Linked DNA regions of Homo sapiens: region 1 is linked to region 2. The links are contacts of gene promoters, found by promoter capture Hi-C in blood cells and fetal thymus (Javierre and others, 2016). All regions are on one chromosome and are shown on one strand. The core of a region is centred on a gene start or on the middle of the fragment in contact, and the rest is flanking DNA. Distances in the headings are between cores, read along the strand shown.

Region 1 (3,911 bases), core at 4-2,503, 260 kb after region 2:
TCAGTGTCCAGAGTAGCAGGGGCTAATTTTTTTTTAATTTTTTAATTTTTTTTTTGAGACAGTCTCTGTTGCCTGGGTTGGAGTGCAGTGGCGCAATATTGGCTCACTACAACCTCTGCCTCCTGGGTTCAAGTGATTTTCCTGCCTCAGCCTCCTGAGTAGCTGGAATTACAGGCACCTGCCACCATGCCCAGCTAATTTTTTGTATTTCTAGTAGAGACGGCGTTTCATCATATTGGCCCGGCTGGTCTCAAACTCCTGACCTCATGATTTGCCCACCTTGGCCCCCAAAGTGCTGGGATTACAGGCATGAGCCACCGCGCCCAGCAGCAGGAGCTAATTTTTAAGAATTTTTTGTAGCAACAAGTTGTTGCTATGTTACCCAGCTGGTCCTGAGTCACTGGGGTTACAGGTGTGTGTCACCATGCCAGGCTTGCTTCCTCCTCCGTTAAGTGGCCATTTTTCCACCTCAAAAATTGGTTTGGGACACAAGGAAGAATTGGAAATGCTTAAGATGAGAACAAAAGTTGAGACCACCCAACACAGCTGGGACCTTACTGCCCAGTGCTCCCAGTGGTCTGACCAAAACCCCACACCAGACAGTACAAAGGCCCACTCCCGAGCTGCCGCTTACGGCCCAGCGGGAACAGACTGTATTCTTATCTTTCGGCATTTCTCTGCAAATAAAAAGGTGCCACTGCGGTCCGGCCTTTGTGCACTTGCCCTTGTGCTGAGCAAGGCGGGTGGCCTGTTCTTACCGCTGGGTTCTGCTGCCCCCACCCCCATTTCGGTGACTAAACCTGCAGCTCTGATCCTGTTCCCAAAGGGGCAGGAGGCCGGGCTCACCCCAGGCAGCCCCTGGCCTCCCTGACGGCCCCCTCGGGAGGGGTTCCGTGCTTTGATCGCCTTTCCAGCGCCGATACTGCAGTAGCTGGGCCCGGCCGAGAGCTCGCGGTCACGAACACCGGCAGCCTCTTGCCTACAGTGTCCCGCGCTGTAGAAGAGCCTGCCCTGGCGCTGAGCTGGTCGTGGCTGCTTCAGCAGTGGGCCTGCGCCTCCTTGTAGGCCAGCCCTGGCCCAGATCCAGGTGCCTGCCCCGGAAGCGCGCGGCTGCCCGGGGTGAAGCCGGAGGGCGGCGAGCGGCTGTTTCGGCCGGTAGGTGGAGGCGTTGACCAGCCTCTGGGAACGGGGCGGGACCTAGTTGGGGGGGCTCCGCCCCCTCCCCAGGAGGCGAGCTCAGCCCGCGACCTTTATCCCGCGCGTTGCGGTCAAGATGGCGCTGGTGGCTTCTGTGCGAGTCCCGGCGCGCGTTCTGCTCCGCGCGGGTGCGAAACCCGGGGTGGGCAGGGATCGGGCCGGGGCCGGGGCCAGGACCGGGAACTAACGGGCTCCCCCACGCTGCCTTCGCAGGGGCCCGGCTCCCGGGCGCGGCCCTCGGGCGGACGGAGCGGGCGGCCGGCGGCGGAGACGGCGCGCGGCGCTTCGGGAGCCAGCGGGTGCTGGTGGAGCCGGACGCGGGCGCAGGTGAGCGGGCGGCGCCGAGGGAGGGCGGGCGTGGGGTCAGGACCCGCGGGGGTCCGCGCTCGCGGGGTGCTGTCGGAGAACCACGTCTGTCGACGCTCGGTTTGTGTTTAGAACCCAAGTTTCGAAACAGAACCTTGCCGCTCTACCTGGGTTCGTTCGTCATGAGATAAAAGTTTCTGTTTTTAAAGTTGGCGGAGGCCGGGCGCGGTGGCTCACGCCTGTAATCCTAGCACTTTAAGAGGCAGAGGCGGGCGGATCACCTGAGGTCAGGAGTTCGAGATCAGCCTGGCCAACATGATGAAACCCTATCTGTACTGAAAAATACAAAAGAAAAAAATTAGCTGGGCGTGGTGGTGCGTGCCTATGCCTGGGAGGCTGAGGCAGAAGAATCGCTGGAATCTGGGAGGTGGAGGCTGCAGTGAGCCGAGATTGTGCCACTGCACTCCAGCTTGGGCCACAGAGCAAGATTCCGTCTCAAAATAAATAAATAAATAAAAATAAAGTTGGCGGGGATATGAGCTGTTATCTAAGTTATTCAATTGGAAGTGGAAAAGAATTGGAATCTTTTGGAATAAAATTACGTTTGTTAACACTCCCATGTGGCACAGAACCTCGTACCTACCCGCCCGTCAGAACCCTTGGTAAAACCCACTGGAAAGGATAGAAAAAGTACTTTTGGAAGAGAAGCCTGTGCGCTCCCTCCAGACAGGAGGCCGAGCTGAGGGCACCGAGAGGGCACGCCTAGGCGCCAGCAGTTCTGCTTCCAGGACATGCTGACCTGGACCTCCCGGTGCAGCAGTCCCTGCTGTGGCTCCTGAGAGGAGGCCCTCCCCCTCCGCAAGTAAGTCACAGCCCCTGCCCTCCCCAACCCCCCAGACTCAGGGCTGTGCCCAACTTTGCACAGCTTCAGGACTCCAGGCTCCTGGTGCCTCTGAACTTGGTTCCGTCCTCTCTGTCTGGGCTGAGGGAGCTGCCTGGGCTCTCTCTACAAACTTGAGAGGGACAAACTAAGACCAACTTCAAACTGACTTTTTTTTTTTTTTTTTTTTTTTTTGGAGATGTAGTCTTGCTCTCCAGTCGCCAGACTGGAGTGCAGTGGCGCAATCTCCGATCACTGCAACCTGTGCCTCCTGGGTTCAAGCGATTCTCCCTCCTCAGCCTCCCAAATAGCTGGGATTACAGGGACCCACCACTATGCCCACTAATTTTTGTAAAAACTGAGTTTCTGAAGGGATCATTTCTGTAGCATATTTGAATATATCTCAACAAAATGCAAAAAAAAAAATTATTATTTTTTTTTTTTTGAGACAGAGGCTCCCTCTGTCACCCAGGCTGGCGTGCAATGGCGCGGTTCCGGCTCACTGCAATCTCAGTCAGGCCTGACTTTCTGACTCCAAACTCTACTTTGTCTTTTTTTTTTTTTTTTTTTTTTTTTTTTTGAGACGGAGTCTTGCTCTGTCGCCAGGCTGGAGTGCAGTGGCACGATCTCCGCTCACTGCAAGCTCCGCCTCCCGGGTTCACACCATTCTTCTACCTCAGCCGCCCAAGTAGCTGGGACTACAGGCGCCCGCCACCACGCCCGGCTAATTTTTTTTTTTTGGTATTTTTAGTGGAGACGGGGTTTCACCATGTTAGCCAGGATGGTCTTGATCTCCTGACCTCGTGATCCACCCGCCTCGGCCTCCCAAAGTGCTGGGATTACAGGCGTGAGCCACCGCGCCCGGCTTACGTTGTCTTTTTATATGGTAAAGTGGGGAGGCACTCGAGTAAAAAAATTGTCATTGTACGAACACTTTTCCTTTTTTACCGGAGGTAATGTGTGTGTGTGTGTACATAAAAATCTTTAAAATATGCCTCACATTTACCATTCTAGCCATTTTGCAATGTACAACCCCGTGGCCGTAAGTATATTCACAATGTGTAGTCCACACTACCCATTCCAATACCTTAAGATAACATGTTTTTGAGTCCGGGCCCGGTGGCTCCCACCTGTAATCCCAGCACTTTGGGAGGCCAGGGTGCGCGGATCACGAGGTCAGGAGATTGAGACCATTCTGGCTAACACGGTGAAACCCCATCTCTACTAAAAAATACAAAAAAAAATTAGCCGGGCGTGGTGGCGGGCACCTGTAGTCCCAGCTACTTGGGAGGCTGAGGCAGGAGAATGGTGTGAACCCCGGAGGTGGAGCTTGCAGTAAGCCGAGATCGCGCCACTGCACTCCAGCCTGGGCAACAGAGCAAGAATCTGTCTCAAAAATAAATTAATTAATTAAATAAAATAAATAAATAAATAAATAGGAATGACAACCACATGGATGAACCTTGAACACATGATACTAAGTGGACAAAGCCGACAACAAAGCCCGGCGGTATCCCAGTGATATGGA
Region 2 (3,598 bases), core at 1,019-3,518:
TCCCCCACTGAGGGTCGCTGTGACTCTTTTTCTGTGTCCTTGACCTGGTAGGGTGCCAGACACACACAGGAGAGATTTCCTGAGCACCAGGGTGGGCCAGGCCCTGTCTGGGCACCGTCACCCCTCACTCTCACCGTGACCCTCATTTTCTGGTCAGCGAAACAGGCCTCAGAAGGTTAAGAGCCTTGCCAGGCATCCAGCTAGCAGCTGCCAAGGGAACCTGAAACTGGAGCTCCAGGGCCTGCCTCTGTGGTGGGCTCCACAGATGACTGATGACCAGTGACAGGTCTAGGAAGGACCCAGATCTCCTTCTCCTTGGTCTCCCAGCACCGGGCAGGACCCCAGGGTGGAGTGGACTCTGGGGTGGGGATGGCCAGGGACACACATCTCTCTCCTCCCTCACAGCTACGTCCCCCCTGGCGTGAAACCACAAGTCACGAGCCCCTGGCCTGTCACTGCTACAGCAGCGGGGATTTCCAGGAACTGGGGGAGGGGCTTTGAGAAACTCAGGTCAGAGACCCCAACAGAAGCCGTAGAGAAATGTAGGGTGGGCTTCTGCAGGAGGGACCAGCAGCATTTTGCAGAGACCCCGGCAAGGGTAGGGGAGGATGGGGATAAAGAGACAAGGAATAAAGTCCCAAGAGTGACTGGGGAGATCAACTTCTCCGGAAGAAGCCATCACAAAGGGCTGGGGGGCAGCCTCATCTGCAGATGACAGTGTCCCTGCAGGCACCTGCTCCTGGAGACAGCTATCCTTCTGAGTTGCCCTGAGGACACACCCAGAGGGGCACAATGCTGGGAGATGGCACTGGGCACTCTTGACCTGCTTCCAGGAGAGCCATGTGTGGCCCCAGCAGGGCCGGAGGAAATGGGCCAAGAACACAGGTGTACCATCAGGGGTATGACCAAAGGTGCTTTATTTTCTTATCATTAAAAGTTAAGGCTTAAACAATGATACAGTGAAGTTTTTTGTTTTTTGTTTTTTGTTTTTGAGATGGAGTCTCACTCTGTCACCCAGGCTGGATTGCAGTGGCGCAATCTCAGCTCACCGCAAGCTCTGCCTCCCATGTTTAAATAAAATAAAATGCCAGAGGTAAAGACAACGTGGTGCAAGTAGGACTCGGCACCGTACAAGCTGCTTGGTGCAAGGAGGCTCCCCAAAGTCGAGGGCGGCAGGGGAGGTGGAGCCCTGAGCTGCTCCCGCTGGACAGCAGGCACTGAGGGGGCAAGAGGTTGGAGGCAGACGACTGCAATGACCCCAAGGACAGGGCAGCTCCCCCTTCTCGCTCACCCCAAGCTTTCAGGGTTGATGGAAAAGGGCCTGAGTGGGCCCTCCTCTTTGAGGACCCAGTGGGGTGGGCAGGGAGTCCAGCCGGCCCTGACCACTAGGCAGCAGTGTTCGGCGTTTCTTCTGCAGGCAGGTGGGCAGGTGGAGGACCCCATTGGCTCACAGGTGCTATAGTAGCCATTGGGTTTTTTTGGACACAAACTTCCAAATGACCAGGGCCGGGGGCTGCACCTGCACCACGACCAGGTTTTTCAGAACGGGTGTCAGATAAACGCTCAGCCCTAGGCAGCCTGGACCCCATGTCTGGTTTCAGGGTGCACCCTGAAGGCCAACACGGCCTCCTCACACTCCACCCAGGGGGTCAGGGCTCACCGCCGCAGCCCTTGCCCGCCTCAGACCCTGATCCATTCATTCAGTTCCCTGAGCACCTACTATTGTGCCAGGTGCTGAGTGAGGCCCCTGCCAGACAAAGACAAGTTAGAGTCCCTACCCTCAAGACCTGGCAGCCTACCAGGGAGCAGTAGCGTCCCCAACGGTACAGCCAATGCCGCACCAGAAGTGTGGTTCCTAGAAGCAGGGGGGACAAGGGAAGGAGGTGCTGGGACTAGCTCGGTGGGTCGCAGAAGAGGTGATCTCTGAATTAGGACTTGAAAGATGAAGAGAGGGCATAGAGCAGGGGAGAAACATGATCCAGTCTGTATTTAAGTAAGTCACAGACTGGTCGGGCACATGGCTCACACCTGTAATCCCAGCACTTTGTGAGGCCAAAGTGGGCGGATCACCTATGGTCAGGAGTTGGAGACCAGCCTGGCCGACATGGTGAAATCCCGTCTGTACTAAAAATGCAAAAATTAGCCGGGTGTGGTGGCGGGTGCCTGTAATCCCAGCTACTAGGGAGGCTGAGGCAGGATAATCGCTTGAACCCGGGACGGGGAGGTTGCAGTGAGCAGAGATCATGCCACTGCACTCCAGCCTGGGTGACAGAGCAAGACTCCATCTCAAAAAAACAAAAACATGAAAATGAAACCCAAAGTCATAAGATAGAGAGGCATGGGGAGCAGCTGCTTGCTGGGGCCAGGTTTTCCTTTAGGAGTGGGGAAATGCCATGGAACTGGAGGTGGTGGTTCCACAACATGCTCATTCATGCAACCACCACCTCTGTCTGGGGTCGTTCAAATGGTTGGATAGTATGTCAATTTCACTTCAATTTTTTTAAAAGAAAAATGAAACAGTTTCATGGCAGGCTAGAGGGAAGACTGTGCCCTGGACACCTGCCACAGACTAGGCCCGGAAAGCAGCCTGAGGGAAGGCTGCTGGTAGAGGCGGCAGGAAGGGAGGGGGCGGCACTGCCTGGCCAAGCTCTGGGCAGACACCAGCCCCACAGTGAGCTGGCCTGCAGGAGGAAGCAGCCCTGCGCCCCACCTCCCAGGCCAGAGCGCTCTGCACGCCCCGCTCAGGGACAATCTTGCCCAATTCTGGCCTGAGTGTGTGTCCTAATGTCAAGCACAAGACAGTCCGAGCACTTACAGTAAGTGCAAGAGTTACTGCAGGGAGCGTGGCGGGTGTGGGAAGGGGGTGTCCCGCCACCACAGGCCCCAGGAGCACACCTGGAGAATCTCTGATCACCCTGGACGCACAGCAGCAGCGCACACCAACCCACAGGGGCTTCAGTTCATTCTGCAGTGCTAGGCACTCCTGCCCCTTGAGACTGACAGTCTTTAGGACAGGGGGTGGGGAGACCAGCCAACACCTGTCTCAGGTGCTGTGAAGCTAGAACGCGGACCCGGCCTCAGCGGGGAGCTCAGGGAAATCCTGGGAGGGACACTAGGGCCCAGGCATGAGGAGTGGCAAATAGCACGCGCAAAGGCCGGGAAACAGAGGCTTTCAGTTCAGAGGAACTGAAAGAAACCTGGTGCCAGAGAGCCTGTGGCTGTGTTGGGGGCCAAGCTTCCTGCCAGGCTAGCAGACCAGGAGGCCTCTCAGACCCGGGACAGGTGCTGCCCCAACAGTCCCCTGAAGGTACTGAAGGAAGGTGTTCAGAGGAGCAAAGAAAGAGGGCTTGGCAGGAAGGGGCCACCCCCGTGGCCAGTCTGGGGAAGAGGAACCCAGGAGCATAGAGTGGGCAGAGGCAGCTCACGTGACGGCAGGCAGAGGCTCCACAGCAGCTGCAGGGAGGGCCCCCAGCAGCCTCGGTCTCACTGGAGGAACTGGACAGGGAGGGGGCATCTGTGCAGGGCTCAAAAGAAAAAAGGCATTCTATTTTTCTTTGTATTATACCGATCCACAATTAAACACAAGGTACTAAAAAGA

The links. The method cuts DNA at HindIII sites, captures the fragments that hold promoters and counts their contacts. A CHiCAGO score of 5 or more calls a contact.
Region 1: the fragment with the promoter of ECI1 here is called in contact with a fragment that was not itself captured in region 2 in 2 of 17 cell types (endothelial precursors and erythroblasts); the score reaches 7.9 in endothelial precursors.

What each region holds. Positions count from the first base shown.
Region 1 is chr16:2,248,929-2,252,839 of GRCh38, reverse strand. ECI1 (enoyl-CoA delta isomerase 1) reads left to right here and starts at 1,253. Exons shown (of 7, transcript NM_001919.4): 1 at 1,253-1,325; 2 at 1,411-1,524. The coding sequence starts at 1,274. LOC107984839 (a long non-coding RNA gene) reads right to left here and starts at 1,170. Exons shown (of 2, transcript XR_001752052.2): 1 at 847-1,170. RefSeq lists enhancers at 802-861, 1,792-1,921 and a silencer at 1,112-1,581. The HindIII fragment of the contact is 15,979 bases long and covers 1-3,911 here.
Region 2 is chr16:2,506,972-2,510,569 of GRCh38, reverse strand. No RefSeq gene overlaps it. Among named protein-coding and RNA genes, the nearest start is that of ATP6V0C, 5.2 kb to the left of the region's middle. RefSeq lists enhancers at 494-563, 624-733, 2,380-2,880, 2,881-3,381. The HindIII fragment of the contact is 1,938 bases long and covers 1,300-3,237 here.